Linked DNA regions of Homo sapiens: all the other regions are linked to region 2. The links are contacts of gene promoters, found by promoter capture Hi-C in blood cells and fetal thymus (Javierre and others, 2016). All regions are on one chromosome and are shown on one strand. The core of a region is centred on a gene start or on the middle of the fragment in contact, and the rest is flanking DNA. Distances in the headings are between cores, read along the strand shown. Region 1 overlaps PADI6 (peptidyl arginine deiminase 6). Region 2 holds the start of PADI4 (peptidyl arginine deiminase 4). Region 3 overlaps PADI6 (peptidyl arginine deiminase 6).

Evidence for each region. Contacts are between HindIII fragments. The CHiCAGO score rates a contact against its expected background, and 5 or more counts as called.
Region 1: a contact is called between a fragment that was not itself captured here and the fragment with the promoter of PADI4 in region 2, in 4 of 17 cell types (megakaryocytes, M1 macrophages, neutrophils and 1 more). The highest score is 8.9, in megakaryocytes.
Region 3: a fragment that was not itself captured here is called in contact with the fragment with the promoter of PADI4 in region 2 in 2 of 17 cell types (megakaryocytes and M1 macrophages); the score reaches 6.0 in megakaryocytes.

The regions. Positions count from the first base shown.
Region 1 is chr1:17,398,809-17,402,570 of GRCh38, forward strand. PADI6 (peptidyl arginine deiminase 6) reads left to right here. Exons shown (of 16, transcript NM_207421.4): 15 at 1-39; 16 at 2,397-2,891. The coding sequence ends at 2,630. Among named protein-coding and RNA genes, the nearest start is that of PADI6, 28 kb to the left of the region's middle. RefSeq lists an enhancer at 2,027-2,963. The HindIII fragment of the contact is 4,174 bases long and covers 1-3,434 here.
Region 2 is chr1:17,306,136-17,309,797 of GRCh38, forward strand. It overlaps PADI4 (peptidyl arginine deiminase 4), which reads left to right and starts at 2,062. Exons shown (of 16, transcript NM_012387.3): 1 at 2,062-2,179. The coding sequence starts at 2,088. The HindIII fragment of the contact is 10,543 bases long and covers 1-2,469 here.
Region 3 is chr1:17,373,250-17,377,073 of GRCh38, forward strand. It overlaps PADI6 (peptidyl arginine deiminase 6), which reads left to right. Exons shown (of 16, transcript NM_207421.4): 3 at 2,178-2,250. Among named protein-coding and RNA genes, the nearest start is that of PADI6, 3.0 kb to the left of the region's middle. The HindIII fragment of the contact is 316 bases long and covers 1,522-1,837 here.

The sequences.
Region 1 (3,762 bases), core at 98-2,597, 92 kb after region 2:
CCCAAGAGGTCCTTTGCGAGGCCATACTTCCCTGACCTGGTGAGGGGCGACTGCGCATCCCTGGGTGGGGGAGGGCCTGTCCAGGCAACACTGGCTGCCACCTCACTGTGCTGGACTGCAGATATGGTGGACAGCAGATAACGGTACCTATGAGGAAATGGGAGGGAGACCCCTTCTCCCCCATCTCGGTTAGGGACGCCCCACCCAGAGAGCAAGTGTACAGGGCCTGAAGGCTTGGAGGTTCCCCAGGCAGTTACTATGGGCCAGGCCCTGGGCCAGGTGCTTTAGGAGCCTCAGTGAGCTGCGCCCCCAGTCTAAAAGGGTGAACCTGTGAGGCCCACTTCGGATGGGGTGCTATGCAACCCAGAGTCGAGGTTGCCGCGCATCTGCCAGCAGCGAGGCCTTGAGCAACCTACCTCAGGGTGGGTCTTCCTGTCCGCTATCTCCAGGGTCCAGGGCAGCAGTGTCTGATACATAGAGGTACATCAGCCCTTAAAATAACATTCTAGGCCAGGCGCAGTGGCTCATGCCTGTAATCCCAACACTTTGGGAGGCCGAGGCAGGTGGATCACCTGAGGTCAGGAGTTTGAGACCAGCCTGACCAACATGAAGAAACCCTGTCTCTAAAAATACAAAATTAGTTGGGTGTGGTAGCACATGCCTGTAATCCCAGCTACTCAGGAGGCAGAGACAGGAGAATTGCTTGAACCCCGGAGACAGAGGTTGCATTGAGCCTAGATCACTCCATTGCACTCCAGCCTGGGCAACAAGACTGAAACTCCGTCTCTAATATTTATTCTGCTTGGCTGGTCGTGGTGGCTCACCTGTAGTTCTAGTACGTTGGGAGGCTGAGGTGGGAAGATCACTTGAACTCAGGAGTTGGAGAGCAGCTAGGGCAACATAGTGAGACCCTGCAACTTTAAAAAAAAGAAAAAAAAAATGCTGGGGCCAGGGTGCAGTGGCTCATGCCCGTAATCTCAGCACTTTGGGAGGCTGAGGTGGGTGGATCACTTGAAGTCTGAAGTTCGAGATCAGCCCTGCAAACATGGTTGAAACTCTCTAGTAAGAATACAAAAAACTAGCTGGGTGTGGTGGTGCATGCCTATAATCCCAGCTAATCAGAGGCTGAAGCAGGAGGATCCCTTGAACCCAGGAGGCAGAGGTTGCAGTGAGCCAAGATTGCACCACTGGACTCCAGCCTGGGCAACAGCAAGACTGTCTCCCAAAAAAACAAACAAAACAAAACAAAAAATGCTGGGTGTGGTGCCACATGCCTGTAGTCTCAGCCACTCAGGAGGCTGAGGCAGGACAATTTCTTGAGCCCCGGAGGTGGAGGCTACAATGAGCCACTGCACTCTAGCCTGGGTAACAAACCAAGACCTTGTCTGATAAACCAAACCAAAAAAAAAAAAAAACATTCTGGGGCTGGGCGTGGTGTCTTACACCTGTAATCCCAGCACTTTGGGAGGCCCAGGCAGGCAGATCACTTGAGGTCAGGACTGCGAGACCAGCCTTACATGGAGAAACTGTCTTTACCAAAAATACAAAATTAGCCAGGTGTAGTGGTGCATGCCTGTCATCCCAGCTACTCAGGAGGCTGAGGCAGGAGAATCGCTTGAACCTGGGAGGTGGAGGTTGCAGTGAGCGGAGATCACCCTGTTGCACTCCAGCCTGGGCAACAAGAGCAAAACTGTTTTGTTTTTTTGTTTGTTTGTTTTTGTTTTTTAAATTCTGTTCCTACTTATTCTAAACCAGAAGTTATAGTCAAGAGTGGGGCTGTGAGTACAAGAGGTCCTGGCTTCACCAAGCCTATGCCGACTGTGGCTCACATCTGAACTTTCTCATGTAACAACTGACCCCTTATATAGGTGTGTAAAATGAACTGAGGCATTTGAGTGCCCCAATTCTCTAAACACCTGCTGACCTCTTCCCTGGGTCCTAGGGACACAGGCCCTGCATGCTCCAATTGTACATGGGTGTCTTCTAACTTGATCAGCTCAGTGTGGTCCGGCAGGGGTGAGTAACGGTAAGAAGCTGCTTTGAGGAGGAGTTGAGATACAAAAGATGCGCAGCAGTCAACTGACAAAGCGGGGGTGGGGAGAGTGTTTCAGTGGAGGCAGCAGCCATGTGTTGTATCCAGGTGACAAGAGGCCAGAATAATCGAAACGTAGAAACTAGAGAAGTTGACAATCCCAGACCTTGGCCAGGCAGGATTTTATCTGGCTGTTGAGAAACAGCCATTGTAGGGCTAAGCAAAAGTGAGCTGGGTTTCACTGACCTGGAGGAGGCGGCTGCCTGCCTGCTACGCCTGGTCTGACCGCAGAGAGGCAGGTGGGCGGCTGGCTTTCAGGCCTCTGATCCCTGTCCAGGCCTCACCCACCCTGTCTTTCTAACAGTTGCGGATGATTGTGATGGGCAAGAACCTGGGGATCCCCAAGCCTTTTGGGCCCCAAATCAAGGGGACCTGCTGCCTGGAAGAAAAGATTTGCTGCTTGCTGGAGCCCCTGGGCTTCAAGTGCACCTTCATCAATGACTTTGACTGTTACCTGACAGAGGTCGGAGACATCTGTGCCTGTGCCAACATCCGCCGGGTGCCCTTTGCCTTCAAATGGTGGAAGATGGTACCTTAGACCCAGGCCCTGGAGCTGCCAGCTCTGCCCCAGCGTGGATGGCCCACTGTCACCATGCAACAGCATGATTCTTTGCCCAGTAGAGGAGGCTGGAGAGTCCAGGCAACAGAACCCTTTCTTCCCTGTCTGCCCCGACCGACCCTCGGACCCAGTAGGATGGCAAATGCCGCCAGCTTGAACCCCTATGGGGAAAAGATGCAAAAGTGTTCAGCCAAGTGACGTTTACTAAATAGCCAATAAAGGGCTGGTGGGTGTGAATGCATCTTGGCAGTGACCTCCTTGTTTGGGGAGGGGATAAGTGACAACTGAGGACAAGGCTGAGCTGAGATACCTATGGCCATGCTGGCCTGCTTGTGTGGGGGGAGAGACTTGGCTACATCAGTTGCTGTCCTTCCCCTCATCTCTAAATTATGTCGTGGCAGGAAGTGGTTGGACTTATCCAAATGGACTTAGATTATCCAAATGGATTTAAGATTATCCAAATGCTGCTCTGGTTTAAGCAACTGGGACAAGCTGGGTCTAGAGTCCAGGGCCCAGGCTAGAGGAAGGTCGAGGGCCTCCCCCTTGGGACTGGTAGGACCTGGAGGGGGCAGGCCCACGGTGGGGGTGGTGCCATGCACGGCAGGCAGCTGGCCTCAGCAAGTGGAGGCTCTGGTCTCCTTGGGTCTGTAGGTGTGGCCTCTTTGAGAAGGCACAGCAGGGGTGGACCTGGGCTGACCCTCAGCCTGAAATGTCCCCTCCAGGGCCCAAAGCCACATATTCCCATCTGACCACCCCTGTGTTAATGGTACAGGGATGCTGTTAAGCTTTAACTGGCGCTGTGGCTCCCACCCTGCTCCTCCTGGATGATGATGACTCTAGGACACTCTAATCCTCAGGGTAGAACCTGAGAAGGGAGCCCTGTGTCCATGTCCCACAGGGAGTTGAAGGCAGAGCTGGGCCTCAAACTAGCCCCCTTCCTAACACCTGGGGCTCTGTGGGCAGCAGGCAGGACCTGGCCAGCCTCTGCCAGCTGCTGGGGCAGTGGAGGAGGGTCATCCTAAGGAAGCGAGGCAGAAGCCAGGGTTGGGGCAGCAGGGCTGGTCTCTGGATCAGATGTGGGTTTTTATCCAAGAGCTGTGCCCTGGTGTGC
Region 2 (3,662 bases), core at 812-3,311:
CCCCACTAACATACGATAGAATCCACTTACTGCATTTATTGCTTACTGGCTGTCTCTCTCCCAACAAAAACAAACAAACAAAAAGGCTCTATGAAGGCAGGATTTTTGTCCACTTTGTTCACAGCGTATCCACGGTGCCTGGAACAGTGCCTGGCCATCAATAGGCACTCAGTCAGTATTTGTTGAATTAACAAAACTGCTTTGGGGCTCGTCCTCTTTGTGGCTCGTTCACAGCAAATTTAAACCCCAAACTGCTGAAGAAAATAAGAAAGAAAAGAAGGAACAGAAGAAAACAACCTCAAGAGACCTAAGACTTGGGGTAGAGGCCAGCCCTCCCTCTGATTTGCTGTGTGACCGTGGGCAGGTCCCACTCCCTTTCTGTGCTTCAGTCTCCCCTTCTGCAAAACGAGGACTGGATTGGGTGTTCTCTAAGGGCCCTCCCAACTCTAACAATGGACAGCTCCCTCCTGCCACTTCCCAGTAGAAGCTCAAACTAGTTCTAATCATGCGGTCAGCCAGAGAAATTGGGTTTATTAACACTGTGTGCAGGCAGTCATGTAGATGCGTCAGAACGTCGGACCTGGCCACATCATCATCTGCTGGTACAGAAGATAAATTTTGAGCCCAGAGAAGGTGGTCTGAATCCAGATCCCCACTGTAGGGCTTATGAGACCTTGGGGGTCTCACTCAATCTCTCTAAGTCTTTGTGGTCTCATCTACACATGGGCATCCTGATAGGACGCACTCCATAGGGATGTTGAGATGAGGCAGGATTTGAACTAAAGCCTGTTTGATCCCACAGCCTGACTCTGAATTAATGAGGCAAATTCTTTGCTTCAAAGCCAAAGCAAGCAAACAAAAAACAAACGCAAGATATCCAACCCACGAAACGCTCTATGTTCACGCCAGACTCCCATGCATGCACCCTTTGAGTGCTCCTTGTTGGGACCCATCCACCACCCCCCAGTTGCCTCATTAAAGGCAGAGCCTGGCACCAATGGCCCAGGTGCAACCACAGCTCTGAGGCCACATGGGCATCCCCCTGGCAGGCGTGGCCCACACCTGCACTGTCTGGTCTGACACCCAGAGGCCCTGGCAAGAGGCAGGTATCCTGGAGCATGCAGAGAACATCAACTTCCATGCCAGGAAGCTCATCTTCTCTTCCCAGCTCTGCCGCATTCTAGCTCTGGCACCTTGGGCAAGAGCTAGTCACTTTTACTCTCTGAGCCTCAATTTTCCTTCTGTAAAATGGGTTGTAATAATAAGCCCATATACACCTTGTATTGTAGCGAGATGTAGCTGTGATACAGTCTGGAAAGCACGTGTCATATAGACAGGCAGCTAATGAATCTCACACTCTGGAACTGGACACCTTTGGTTCCAATTCTGGCCCTACCACTCTCGAGCTGTGGAAGAACTGCACCTCTGTTTTCTCCTCTGTAAAATGGGTATAATAATGGCACCAACCTCAGAGGGCTGCTGTGAGGGTGAAATAAGGGGATAATGGTATGATCTAGTTCACGGGTTTGTCGTAATGAGCTATTCTATGTGAAGTGCAGGAAAACGTGCCTGGCATAGAGAATGTGAGCTGTCATGTGGGTGGCCCAGGTGGAGAGACTTGTCCCAAGCCTGGTTGGTCTTTGAACGTGTAGCCTGGCCTGTGACTGCTTACCTAAAATCTCCCCGCTTTTCCCACCTTCTCCTCTCTGATATGCCTGTTTGACATAGGTGAGATTGGATAGATCAAGGTGTTCAGGGCCTCTAGGCAGGGATGGGACTGTGGGCATGAGGACCAGGACCCAACCCCTCAGCCCCACTCTCCACCCCAGGCTTTCTGAGCCATCCATCCTTCCCAAGAAACTGACAGAGCCACCCTGCCACTGGTACCAGCATTGACACCCATCTAGAGGTCCGAGGGGCAGCCCCAGGGCAGAGGAGATTTTGAGAGCCCACACCCCTGACCTGAGTGGGGAGGGGTTGAGCCTCTGGGCCACAGACCGCAGGTGCTGACTCATGGCCTCTGCTGGGCGATATAAAGGAACCAGCCCAGGGGCTTCCTACAGCCAGAGGGACGAGCTAGCCCGACGATGGCCCAGGGGACATTGATCCGTGTGACCCCAGAGCAGCCCACCCATGCCGTGTGTGTGCTGGGCACCTTGACTCAGCTTGACATCTGCAGGTAAGAGGGGGGCCTTCTGGGGTTTTGGAGGCAGGTCAGGAGATGCTGGATGACCCAGTTCTACTGACACAGGAGCATGTGTTTGGCCCAGGCTCTAGGCTCCAGCCTCTGCAGCCACTGCCAGGGGAGTAGCTGGAGAGAGAAGACCCCAGCAGCCCTGGGAAGTGCCAGTCTCATGGCTGTGGGTTCTTTGCCATGTACAAGTGCAAATTCCCCAGGAACACACGACAGATAAATTATTATGGGGCAAACCAGGCCATCCATCTCCCTGTCTTCATCGAGGCAACAGAAGCTTACAGAGAGTCTGTGACTTGCTCAAGGTCACACAGCACGTGTGCCCTGGAAGTAAGGTTAGCCCCTGGGCCTCCTGGTTCACAGCACAGTTTGTTACCCCACATCTCTTAGCTAAGCCTCCCTCAGTGGGTGCATAATAGCGTGGGTGGGGATGGCGAAACGGGGCTCTGTGGCGGCAGAGACTGAGGTAGGAAGCCTGGACCTGCTGCTGGCTAGCAAGGAGGCCTTGGGCAACTGAGCCTCAGTTGCCTCATCTGTGAAATGGGGATAATACTCACATCATGGGCTGGTTATAGGAATTCAATGTGAAAAAATGTGCAGATGTTGGCTGAGTACTTAGCACAGTGGTGGGCCCATCCTTGGTAGTTTTTATTTACTCATTTAACAAATGCTGAGTGCCATGCTCTGTGGCAGGGTCTGGGTTAAACAAGAGAGTTGAGGAATGCTCTCGGGGAGTGTGCAGGGTCATTGTTGTTATTGTAGAACAGGAATTAAAAGAAATTTTAAAACGTGTAAGCAAAAACTCAGTTCTATGTTAAAAAAAAAAAAAACAATTTTCCCTGGAAAAAAAAAAAAAAAAGAGCTGGAGTCCCTTAAAAATTAACTGCCTGTTTTTTTGTGGCTAGTGAGCCTTATTGCTCCTCTTTTTCCAGGCATTGTAAAGACCCTGTTTCTCCAGCTGTGCAGCTGCAAGGTCACTAGACAGATAAACTCAAGCTGTAAAAATTTTTTTCCTTAAAAAGTAAAAAATAATATAATGCATGTCTCAATTAAATAACTGTCTTTGTTTCTTGCCTCTATAATATGCTTCCCCCTGCACAGATCTACCCCCGCCCCATGAAATGCTTAAAAGATAACTTAACTCTTTGTTCAGGGCTCAGTCTTTTGAAATGTTAGCCTGACTGAGCCAGTGAATCTAAATAATAAATCCTCCTCAACCCCTCGGTCTCTCTGATTCCTAAATTATCCTGCAACAATTGCTGTTGTCAGGAATAGGAGTGGTTGCCCCTGGCTTCCCCATCCCAGTCTGGGCATCGGTGGCCCTAGAATGGTGCCCACAGGAGTGCCGGGGACATTTCTTTGCTACTGCCTGAGCCCCAGCAGCCAGAGAACAGCAGGAAATGTCGGGATGGTCTCCCAGGGCCACATGGTGGAGGCAGGAGACCAAGAAGTTGGGGAGAAAAGGAAA
Region 3 (3,824 bases), core at 430-2,929, 67 kb after region 2:
GAGGTGAGGGGCATCTCCCGGGGTGGGACCTAGCACAGCCACTGGGGCTTCCTCCTGGCTGCAGACGTGACTCGAGCCTGGGAAACACGTTGTTTTGCACGTCTGATCTCATCCAGTGTCTGCAACAGACCAGTGGTGTGGGCACTCCATGACCCCATTTTACAAAGAAACAGAGGCACCTAGCGAAGGTGCCCTGCCAAGTCAGCAACCAGCAGGACTGGGATTTATTTTTTATTTTCATTTATTTATTATTATTTTTTTTTTTGAGTCTCACGCTCATTGCCCAGACTGGGGTGCAATGGCACAATCTCAGCTCACTGCAACCTCCACTTCCCGGGTTCAAGCAATTCTCCTGCCTCAGCTTCCCGAGTAGCTGGGACTACAGGCACCCACCACCATGCCCGGCTAATTTTGTATTTTTAGTATGAGACAGGGTTTCACTATGTTGGCCAGGCTGGTCTCAAACTCCTGACTTCAAGTGATCTACCTGCCTCCACCTCCCAAAGTGCTGGGATTACAGGCATGAGCCACCACACCTGGCCTACCATCACTTTACATATGAGGAAACTAAGGCACAGAGTGCTGTGTCTAAACCTAAGTAGCCTACCTAGAGTGGGATAGACCCAGGATTTGAGCTTGAGCCCAAGGGTGTATTCTCCCCTGGGTAAGCTGTCTCCCTAATGGGGTGCCTATGTTGGGGAGGTTCTCCTGTGGTAGAAGCAGGTGGCTCATTCAGGGCAGGAGTGTTCAACCTTGGTTGCAGGTGAGAACCACTGGGGAGCTAATAACATCAATACCCAGGCCACACCCCCTCTACCAATTAAACCTGAGGTACCAATGGAACCTCAGGGCTAGGATCCTGGCCGCTGGTTTAAAGCTCTCCAGGTGCACCCAGTGCGGGGCTGGGGGTGAGAACCATGATGGAGCAGTTCAGGACTGGGAGAGCTCTCCCTCCCTCCCCCCACACCCTACAGGACCTACTGGAGATGTCTGCTGCAGAGGGGTAGGTACACACACCCACCTGCGCTGTGTGCCCAGGGCAGGCAACTCCCTGAGAGGCAAGTAGTGGACTTAGGTAGGAACTGAGTGTCTCTGGCCAGGTGTGGTGGCTCATGCCTGTAATCCCAGCACTTTGGAAGGCTGAGATGGGCAGATCACCTGAGGTCGGGAGTTTGAGACCAGCCTGGCCAACATGGTGAAACGCTGTCTCTACTAAAAATACAAAAATTAGCCAGGTGTGGTGGCAGGTGCCTGTAATCTCAGGTTCTCAGGAGGCTGAGGCTGGAGAATCGCTTGAACCCAGGAGGTGGAGGTTGTAGTAAGCTGAGATTGTCCCACTGCATTACAGCCTGGGCAACAAGAACAAAACTCCATCGCAAAAAAAGGTATCTCAGATAAGAATGGAGGCCACGGTGGGTGCCAGTGGAACTCCAGACTACCTGAGAACCATTCTCTGCCCAGGGCTCGGCCTCCAGGACCCTCAGGAGTGGCCAACAAAGAACCTTGAACTTAGAGGACTAAAGCTTCTATTTAAGGATGGGGTGGATCTGTCACATGCTCTGGCCAATGGTTGGGTCTCTGGTTCATGACCAAGACCTTGTGGTCAGGGTCAGTGGCTGGAGGGCAGGTCTCTTTCTAAAAGCATAAAGTAGAGGCTGGTGTGGGACACAGTCCCACAGTTGGGACTGAGTCCCAACGCTGCTTCTTCACCTGGGTGTCCTTCTTAGTGAGCAGCTTAAGCCACCAGAGGCCTGTTTCCCCACCGTGCACCTTATGGAGTAGGACATGGGACCCCAGGAGAGTGGGTTTAGCAGGGAGGATGTATAGTGTGGTTTCAAGCTTGGGCTCTAGAGCCAGGCAGCCTGTTTCTTAAATCCCTTTGGGATAAGTCCCTTGATCACCCCGCCATCAGGGATACAGCTCTCACGTGGACAGGTGGTTTCAAGCCTGGCTCTCGACAAGGTTAGGGTTGGGGGTCATGGCAGGTTCTAAGTCCTTAGGGGACTGACTCAGCCCTAAGCGCAGGGCTGTGGCCCCATACCAGCTCATAGGTGAGACTTCAGAAGCCATAACACAAGACCAAGATCCCACGCCTAGACTCGGCACATGGCCTGGGGCTCTGTTCCTGGCACCTCCCGTCCAACACTGCCTATGGTTTCGGGATGCTGTCTCCACAGGTCTCGGTCACATACTATGGGCCCAACGAGGATGCCCCCGTGGGCACAGCTGTGCTGTACCTCACTGGCATTGGTGAGTGTTGCTCCAACTGGGAGCCTGGGGCCCAACTCACCGCTGGGGTTGGGGAAGGGGTGGGATTGTAGGAGGAGCCAAAAAAGATTCTCCAGGTAACAAGATGCCTCCTGTGGGCCCCAGGAACTCCTGAACAAACTCCTAAATGGATTCATTTGAGATACCCACTCACACACTCCCTCCTCGACGCTCAGTCACTTCTCCATCTTCGTGCACTGCCAACCTAATTCTGAGAATAGAAACAGCCAGAACTTCCGTGTCGCTGCCATCTACCCACCTACGCCTGTCTAGTGCCTACCTTCTTCCTTTGTTACTAATTGACGCATCTGGTCCAAAGTTAGTCTTTCTTGTCTCACTAGATCCTTTCTTATTCAAGAACATTCCTTTGTCAATTCTTACCAATGTAAGAAGCCGCCACCCTTCCCCGCCCTCTAGATCACCCCCATCAGCTCAGGAACAAGCTCTATAACATCTACTTTTTTTTTCTTTTTTTTCTGAGATGAGTCTTACTGTCACTCAGGCTGGAGTACAGTGGCATGATCTCGGCTCACTGTAACCTCTGCCTCCCAGGTTCAAGTGATTCTCCTACCTCAGCCTCCAGATTAGCTGGGACTATAGGTGTGTGCCACCATGCCTGGCTAATTTTTATATTTTTAGTAGAGACAGGTTTTCACCATGTTGGCCAGGCTGGTCTCGAACTCCTGACCTCGCGATCCACCTGCCTCGGCCTCCCCAAGTGCTGGGATTACAAGCGTGAGCCACTGTGCCTGGCCATATCATCTCTCTTAAACCTGATTCTAGGGTGTTTGTTTTTGTTTGAGATGGAGTCTTGCTCTGTTGCCCAGGCTGGAGTGCAGTGGCGCGATCTTGGCTCACTGCCCATTCCACCTCCCAGGTTCACACCATTCTCCTGCCTCAGCCTCCCGAGTAGCTGGGACTATAGGTACCCGCCACCATGCCCGGCTAATTTTTTTTTATTTTTAGTGGGCTAATTTTTTTTATTTTTAGTGGGCTAATTTTTTTTATTTTTAGTGGGCTATTTTTTTTGTATTTTTAGTGGGCTAATTTTTTTGTATTTTTAGTGGAGACGGGATTTCACTGTGTTGGCCAGGCTGGTCTCAATCTCCTGACCTCGTGATCCGCCCACCTCAGCCTCCCAGAGTGTTGGGATTACAGGCGTGAGCCACTGTGCTGGGCCTAGGTTGTCTTTTAAAGTCTATTCTCCCACCTCTCTTCCTGAGGAGCCATCTGTGTCCTCAATTTCTCTAGAATCTTCTCAAATTAGACACCTACCACCAACGGAGTTCTTTTAGAACTCTAACATCTACAACACTAAGTTTTTGGTTTGTGTGGGTTCTTTTGTGTTTTTGTTTTGTTTTGTTTTGTCTTGTTTTTTGTTTTTGAGACAGTCTCACTCTGTAGCCTAAGCTGAACTGGAGTGAAGAGACACGATCATGGCTCATTGCAGCCTCAAACGATCCTCTCACCTCAGCCTCTCCAGTAGCTTGGACCATAGGTGTTATACCACCATACTTGGTTAATTTTTTATACAGACATAGGTATCCCTATGTTGC